Linked DNA regions of Homo sapiens: region 2 is linked to region 1. The links are contacts of gene promoters, found by promoter capture Hi-C in blood cells and fetal thymus (Javierre and others, 2016). All regions are on one chromosome and are shown on one strand. The core of a region is centred on a gene start or on the middle of the fragment in contact, and the rest is flanking DNA. Distances in the headings are between cores, read along the strand shown.

Region 1 (4,032 bases), core at 686-3,185:
ACACCCCTGGGGACCCACGTGATAGCGATATGAGGGGTCCCATGGTCAGAGCTGGGGGCAGGGGCAGGAGGACACAGGGAGAGCTGGGGGCAGCCAGCCCTTCATGGGCTTATGCTCACCTACCTGCTGGACAATCAGGTTCACAAATGAGTTTCCTTCCAAACCCAACTACTTATCTTTCCCTCCACCAATGCGCAGCTCTCATCCCCACCCCACAGAGCATCAGAAGCTGGGTCCACTGTGATCCTCCCTGTCCCAGTCTTTCTAGAGACCTTGCATCCTCTTCACACTAGGCCCGTCAGAGGCTGGGGCCTGACCTCCTCAGAGTTAGGACCCACCAGTGCGCGTGGTGGAGGTACAGAAATGATAGGAGAAATCCTTCTAAACATATAAAGAGGGCATTTTAGGAGAGTTTCCCCTTTCCTCTTACCATTTTTAAACCCCTGGACTTTCACCTTATTCTCCAAGTACTGGAAGTTTTCATACGTCCTTGTCATGCTTGGGCCAACACGGCTCTGAGGTTGTCACAGCTGAAATGGAGGCAGGGCCGGCGCCCAGTCTGGGGTGGAGCTGGGGAATAGGAGGTTGGGACTAAGTTGGAGCCAAGGGCAGGGCTGACGTTGAGTTGGGAGATGAGGCTCAGGTTGAGAATGAGCCCAGGGTTAAGACGGAAATGAGCCTGGGTTTGCAGTCGAGTTAGAATTGGGGTCGAGTTGAGTTTGGGAGTGAAACTGGAGGGTAACGTTGGAGCTAAACGCATTGCTAGGACTACCCAGTGGGCCAGTTAATCAGGCAGGACTGGAGGTTGTATCTCATGCTAGGATTGGGGTCAGTATGCACGTTGGAGCCATGGATGGAATTGGGGTTAACTTTGGTGGTGAATTTGGAAACAGAATAGAGTCGAGGTTCAATTTTGGCTTTGGGCTGGTGTTAAAATTCAAGTTGATTCTGGGGTTGGGGTTGAAGTAGGAGCTGGGTGGGGGGCGACAGGTGCGGTGGCTCACGCCTATAAATCCCAGCACTTTGGGAGACCGAAGCAGACAGATCACTTTAGGTCAGGAGTTTGAGACCGGCCTGGCCAACATGGTGAAACCCCATCTCTACTAAAAATACAAAAATTAGCTGGGTGTGGTGGTGTGCGCCTGTAATCCCAGCTACTTGGGAGGCTGAGGCAGGAGAATCACTTGAACCCAGGAGGCAGAGGTGGCAGTGAGCCGAGGTTGTGCCGTTGCACTCCAGCCTGGACGACACAGTGAGACTCAGTCTCAAAAAAAAAGAAAATGTAGAAGCTGGGGTTAGTATTGGGATTAGGGCATGGCTGGGCTGAGATGAAGATAAGGCTGGAAATGGGCCACCAATGAGGCTGAGTCTGAGTCTTAGTTTATTTTTATTTTTATTTATTTATTTTTTGAGATGGAATTTCGTTCTTGTCGCCCAGGCTGTTGTGCAACGAGGCCGTCTCGGCTCACTGCAACCTCTGCCTCCTGGGTTCACAAGATTCTCCTGCCTCAGCTCCCGGAGTCTTAGTTTATGACAGGGGATTGTGGCTGCCGTAACCCAATCTAGAATCCAGTGAAGGGAACAGAGTCTCAAATCTCCACGTAGTAATTAAACCCCACACTGCCGCCTTATATTTATTTTCATTTAGTCCCACCCAAGACCCAAAGTCCCCCTCTCCCTGCTTCCTCTGACATCCCCTGTCCCCTGGGTCTCACCGGCACCGGCAGCACCATTACCTGTGGGAGGTCTGGAGGGTGTGATTCCCACGTTGGTTGTGCTGCAAGGACCAGAGGTGGGACGTCACTCAGAGTTGGGAGCGCTGTGTCCTGGAGAGCTGGGGTAGAGGTGACTGGAGTCCTGCTGGTCTTGGGTCTGAAATCCCAGGAGCCCTATCATCTGGGACATCCCATCTCCTCAACTTTAGACAGTAAATGAGAATGAACAGGGATTAGAACACACAGAGACCATGTGTGGGTGGGGAGAGTTGGGTTTGAGGCCAGCTCTGTTCTCCTCCTCCAGGCCATGCCTACTTCCTTTCCTCTTCTCGGAGCTTCCTCATTTTTACCATCTGGGAGCAGGGCTGGATCAGAGGTACAATCTGCTGTTGCTCCTCTACCCTACACTTCCTTTCACTTCCTGCCTCTACATTTCCCAGAATTGTTGGGTCTCCATCATCGCACCTCTGATCCTAGAGAAGCCCAGTCTGTTCTCTTGCTCAATCCTGGCCTGAGTCCCTGGCATCAGCATCCTCTGGGTCCCAGTCATTCGGCTGCTCAGCTGTGGCCTCGCTCGCCTCACTCCACTCGGAAGGAGGGAAGGGGGTGCCAGAGAATAGAACTTCTTGGCCCTAATAGGACGGGAGAAGCCAAGGAAAAGAGCAAATTTTATTGAGTAATCTGTGATAGGATTATGCCAGACATTTACCTTCCACAACCATTCCCCCCAAGCACCTGGGGAGGCATTTTGGATGACGGACTAAAGGCTCAGAGCCCAAGATCACTCACAGCTTGTAAGGAGACAGTTTGGCACCCTGCTCTGGCTCTCAGCACAGGCGCTGTCTTCATGAACAGGATTCCATTTCATCCCATGATCCCTGCTCAACCCCTAAGGGAGCTGCCCTGAATCCACGCGCACATCCCTTTCAGTAGGAAGGAAACTGAGTATCTTACAAGGTGGAGAAGGAGAAGAAATACATTTTAGGTTATATTTTGTATGTACATGGGGTTGTGTTCTGCTATGTGCTTTTTTTTTTTTTTTTTGGAGTTAACAAGCTATCAGGAACATTTCTCCACATCAGTTTATAAAATGTACTTGATCTACCTGCACCTCATTTCATCATAGGCACCGTAATTTATTTATTTAGCATTTCTCTATTGACAGAAATAAATCAGAAATTTAAGTTGTTTCTTTTTCTTTTCTTTTTTATTTTATTTATTTATTTATTTTTTTGAGACAGAGTCTCACTCTGTTGCCCAGGCTGGAGTGCAGTGACACAATCTCGGCTACTGCATCTCCTGGGTTTAAGCGATTCTCCTGCCTCAGCCTCCCGAGTAGCCGAGATTACAGGTCCCGCCACCACACCCAGCTAATTCTTGTATTTTTAGTAGAGAGGGGTTTCACCATATTGGCCAGGCTGGTCTTGACCTCCTGACCTCACATGATCTGCCCGCCTCAGCCTCCCAAAGTGCAGGGATTACAGGCGCGAGCCACCGCACCCGGCCAGGTCGTTGCCAGTTTTGTTTTTATTTGGTATTCGGTATTTTGATTAGTATATGTCGCAGGTTCGGTTTTTGGAAGCCAAGGTTGAGGCTGAATTTGGGGTACAAGCTATTTATTAGGGATTAGCACTTCGAAAAGGAAAGTGGATGAAATGGTGCTGGGCAGAGGGAGAAGCCCAGCACTTTGGAGAGCTTCAACCAAACCAACAGGGAGCTCTGGGTTCAAACAATGCCACCCCCGGGAGCTGTCCAGCATTGGACTGCCACAGGGTCCTGTAGAGCACCAGCTCCTTCGGTCACTGGCAGTCAGCCCTGACATGGGTGTGACCTCAGGAAGCAGCTGTCTGCAGGTTACACTCCCCACAGTGGGTCACCACATCCTTCCTAGAAGGGGGACCTGGGTAGCTCTCTGTGTGTCTACCACAGTCTTGCAGTGTATTCACATATTAATTTGGAGATAATCAACATTTTGACATTGTTGAATCTTCCATGAAAAGAACATGATATTTCTCCATTCACTAACTTTTTTTTTTCAGTCTGGTTCAGTGGGTTTGAAGCTTCTTTTTTTTTTTTTAGTTCTGGGATACATGTGCAGAATGTGCAGGTTTGTTACGTAGGTATACGTGTGCCATGGTGGTTTGCTGCACCTATCAACCCATCACCTAGGTTTTAAGGCCCGCATACATTAGGTATTTGTCCTAATGCTCTCCCTCCCCTTGCCGCCCACCCCCTGACAGACCCTGGTGTGTGATGTTCCCCTCCCTGTATCCATGTGTTCTCATTGTTCAGCTCCCGGTTATGAGTGAGAACATGC
Region 2 (4,032 bases), core at 1,150-3,649, 81 kb after region 1:
CTTCCGACCTCAGGTGATCCACCCACCTCGGCCTCCCAAAGTGCTGGGATTACAGGCATGAGCCACTGCGCCCAGGCCATGTGTCTTTTTCATATAACTTCTTCCCTTCTTTATTAATTAAGCTGGTTCTCACTGAATTTCTGTCACTTACAGCCAAGACACCCTCAACTAATTCCCTGGATCCGTTTCTGGAGTCTATTCCATGTCACTGACTCCTCTCTCCATCCCTATGCCAGTGCCAAGTGTGTTTTAATTATGTAGATCTATTGTGGGGAAAAGAAAGAGAGATCAGATTGTTACTGTGTCTATGTAGAAAAAGGAGGACATTAGAAACTCCATTTTGATCTGTACTAAGAAAAGTTGTTCGGCTTTGAGATGCTGTGAATCTGTAACTCTTGTCTCAACCCTGTGCTCACAAAAACAATCCCTTAAACTCAAAGTTTAAGGGATTTAGGGCTGTGCAGGATGCACTTTGTTAAAAATGTGTTTGCAGGCTGTATGCTTTGTGAAAGTCATTGCCATTCTCCACTCTCTATTAACCAGAGACACAATGCACCGCGGAAGGCTGCAGGGACCCCTGCCCAAGAAAGCCTGAGTATCGTCCAGGTTTCCCCCCACGGAGATAGCCTGAGATATGGCCTCCTGGGAAAGGAAAGACCTTACATCCCCCAGCCCGACACCCGTAAAGGGTCTGTGCTGAGGAGGAGTAGTGAAAGAGGAAGGCCTCTATGAGGTTAAGAGGAAAGCATCTGTCTCCTGCACGTCCCTGGGAATGGAATGACTCGGTGTAAAACCGAGCATACATTCTATTCTGAGATAGGAGAAAACCGCCTTATGGCTGGAGGCGAGACATCATGGTGGCAGTACTGCTCTGTTACTCTTTACTGCTCTGAGATGTTCATGTAAAGTTAAATATAAATGTAGCCTACGTGCACATCCAGGCACAGCACCTTTCCTTAAACTTATTTATGACACAGAGTCTTTTGTTCACGTGTTTTCCTACTGACCCTCTCCCCACCATCACCCTATAGTCACACCGCATTCCCCTCGCCGAGATAGTAAAGATAGTGATCAATAAATACTGAGGGAACTCAGAGACCAGCGCAGGTGCAGGTCTTCACTTGCTGAGTGCCAGTCCCCTGGGCCCACTTTTCTTCCTCTATACTTTGTCTCTGTGTCTTATTTCTTTTCTCAGTCTCTCATCTCCACCTTGGGAGAAATACTCACAGGTGTGGAGGGGTAGGCCCCCTTCAACCTATGATATATTTTAACATCTGATAGGACAAGTCCCCTTATTATTGTTCTTTTAAATTTTTTCTGCTGGCTACTCTCACATGTTTAGTCTTCTAGATGAATTTAGGCTCATTTTGTCCAATTGCAAAAATACATTGCCCAGGAATTTTCATTTGCATAACCTTGAATTTATAGCTCAATCTAGGGAAACTTGACATCATAGCAATATGGAGACGTCATAGTCAAGTTGACTATATGAAGTATTTTTATGGCCTTCATTATAGTTGTTTTTTTGTTTTGTTTTTTTTTTTTGAGATGGAGTCTCGCTCTGTCGCCCAGGCTGGAGTGCAGTGGCGCCATCACTGCAAGCTCCGCCTCCCGGATTCGTGCCATTCTCCTGCCTCAGCCTCCCGAGTAGCTGGGACTACAGGCGCCCGCCACCACGCCTGGCTATTTTTTAAAATATTTTTAGTAGAGATGGGGTTTCACCGTGTTAGCCAGGATGGTCTCGATCTCCTGACCTCGTGATCCGCCCGCCTCGGCCTTCTAAAGTGCTGGGATTACAGGCGTGAGCCACCGCGCCCGGCCCATTAGAGTGTTATGGTTGTTCTCATCCACATCTCACACGTTTCTTCAGTTCATTCTTGGGTGTTTTATGGTTTGGTTGCTATTGTGCATTCCCAGATTCTTACTGGAGATTGGGTGTGGGGTCTTACAGTAGGCACCTCTGGTGTCCCACGTTGCACCCCCTTGACCCGCTGATTTCAGCCACAACAAAAGTAGACAGTTCCATCAGAACTCAACCAGGTCCTTGTGCTGAAAATACCCCTCCTCAAGCATGAGCCACACTCTCTGCCCCAGGGCTTTCTCTAGCACCAATAGAAGCTTGCTCAGCCAATACAGCACAGCTCAGACCTGCTGGGGAGTTCATGCCCACGGGGAATGGAAGCTGGTGGGTAAATCCTCCAGCCACCCCTCCTTCAGATCAACCATTCTGTATGCTTGGAGATGCTGGTGAGCCCCATCACCCAAAATGTGCAGCAGCCTTGACAATGCACCCCGATTGGGCTTGCCTCCTTCCCCGTCTCACTCCCTCCTCTTTTTCACTCCTGCTTTCTGGGATCAGCTCCCAAGAAAACTATCTTCCTCAAGTCCTTCTCTCAGGCTCTGCTTTTGGGAGACACCCAAACTAAGGCAGACCTCCTATGGGATTCTGGCTCATAGTGAGGCAATTGAGTTTTATAGGAGAATCACTTGAACCAGTTGGTTTCCCCATTGCCAAGAAATATCACACTCACTCTACATAGCTGTTGAGCAGAGCTGGGACCAGTCTGGCCTGGAGTAGACACACACCGCCCCCCCCACCCCACACACACACACACACGGGTCCTGCTGTAACCCTGCATTCTTCAGCCTTAGGTGTGGAACCTCTCTCTAATACCTCTAAGAAGCTTGTAACTCCTTCAAAGTACTGCAGTGTCCCCCTATCTGCCTCACCACAAATTCAGACTCCTCCCTTTATCCCCCAAGCACAGTTAACTTGAAGCAATAAAGAAGAAGATTCGGGCCAGGCCCAGTGGTTCGCACCTGTAATTCCAGAACTTTGGGAGGCCAAGGCGGGCGGATCACCTGAGGTCAGGAGTTCAAGACCAGCCTGGCCAACACGGTGAAACCGTGTCTCTACTAAAAATACAAAAAATTAGCCAGGCGTGGTGGCAGGCGCCTGTAATCCCAGCCACTCGGGAGGCTGAGGCAGGAGAATTGCTTGAACCTGGGAGGCGGAGGTTGCAGTGAGCCGAGATTGAGCCACTGCACTCCAGCCTGGGCGACAGAGTGGAACTCCATCTCAAAAAAAAAAAAAAAAAAAATTCTTACACATGACCTCCCAACTATTTCTACAAATTTGCATCATACACTCAAGACTCAATGTTCTGGGAGAGATTGCCAGGTGGGTGATACCCATGGCACATGCCACCCCCCTCCTGCTACACTGGGGGGTGGGGGAGAGATGAAGAATTCGGTTCTGTGGCTACTGGTGCCCCCTGAAGTATGCACATTATAAGGGGCTCTCTAAAATACAAATCATGAATGTTTACTATAATATTCTTTGCCCATTTCTCCAATGGGTTGTTGTTGTTTTTTTCTTGTCATTGTGTAGGGGTTCTTTATAGTCTGGATATTAATTAACTGTTATAAATATTGCAAATATTTCATCTAAGTCTATTGCTTTTTTTTTTTTTTTTTTTTAGACAGGGTCTCACTCTGTTGCCCAGGCTGGAGTGCAGTGGTGCAATCACGGCTCACTGCAGCTTTGACATTTCTTGGCTCAGGTGATCCTCCCACCTCAGCCTCCAGAGTAGCTGGGACTACAAGCACACGCCACCACGCCCAACTAATTTTTGTATTTCTTGCAGAGACAGGGTTGTTGCCCAGGCTGGTCTCGAACTCCTGAGCTCAAGTGATCTCCCTGCCTCAGCCTCCCAAAGTACTAGGATTACAGGCGTGAGCCACTGCACCTGGCCCCTCTTTTTTTTGTTTCTTACCATTTTTTTTCGTTGTTGAAGAAAGCATAAGTTGGCTGTAAAATCTTCCGCCTTCTGGATCTGACGGCATGCATGCCTGTGTGGATGTTCCCCTCCCACTGCATTTCCAATAAGCTGGTAGTTACTGCTAACCAGATTCAGTTCAAGGTTCTCTGACAACAACGTCGCGCAGGCGGTGCTGTGGCGTCCCTACCGCATCACAATAGTAAGTACATAGTGTCCGCAAATGTACAAAAACTGACCTCCTCCTTCCTCA

Evidence for each region. Contacts are between HindIII fragments. The CHiCAGO score rates a contact against its expected background, and 5 or more counts as called.
Region 2: a fragment that was not itself captured here is called in contact with the fragment with the promoter of CLEC10A in region 1 in 2 of 17 cell types (monocytes and M1 macrophages); the score reaches 6.6 in monocytes.

The regions. Positions count from the first base shown.
Region 1 is chr17:7,078,316-7,082,347 of GRCh38, forward strand. It overlaps CLEC10A (C-type lectin domain containing 10A), which reads right to left and starts at 1,936. Exons shown (of 9, transcript NM_001330070.2): 1 at 1,737-1,936; 2 at 431-570. The coding sequence starts at 497. The HindIII fragment of the contact is 6,420 bases long and covers 1-3,773 here.
Region 2 is chr17:7,158,805-7,162,836 of GRCh38, forward strand. No RefSeq gene overlaps it. Among named protein-coding and RNA genes, the nearest start is that of ASGR1, 19 kb to the right of the region's middle. The HindIII fragment of the contact is 566 bases long and covers 2,117-2,682 here.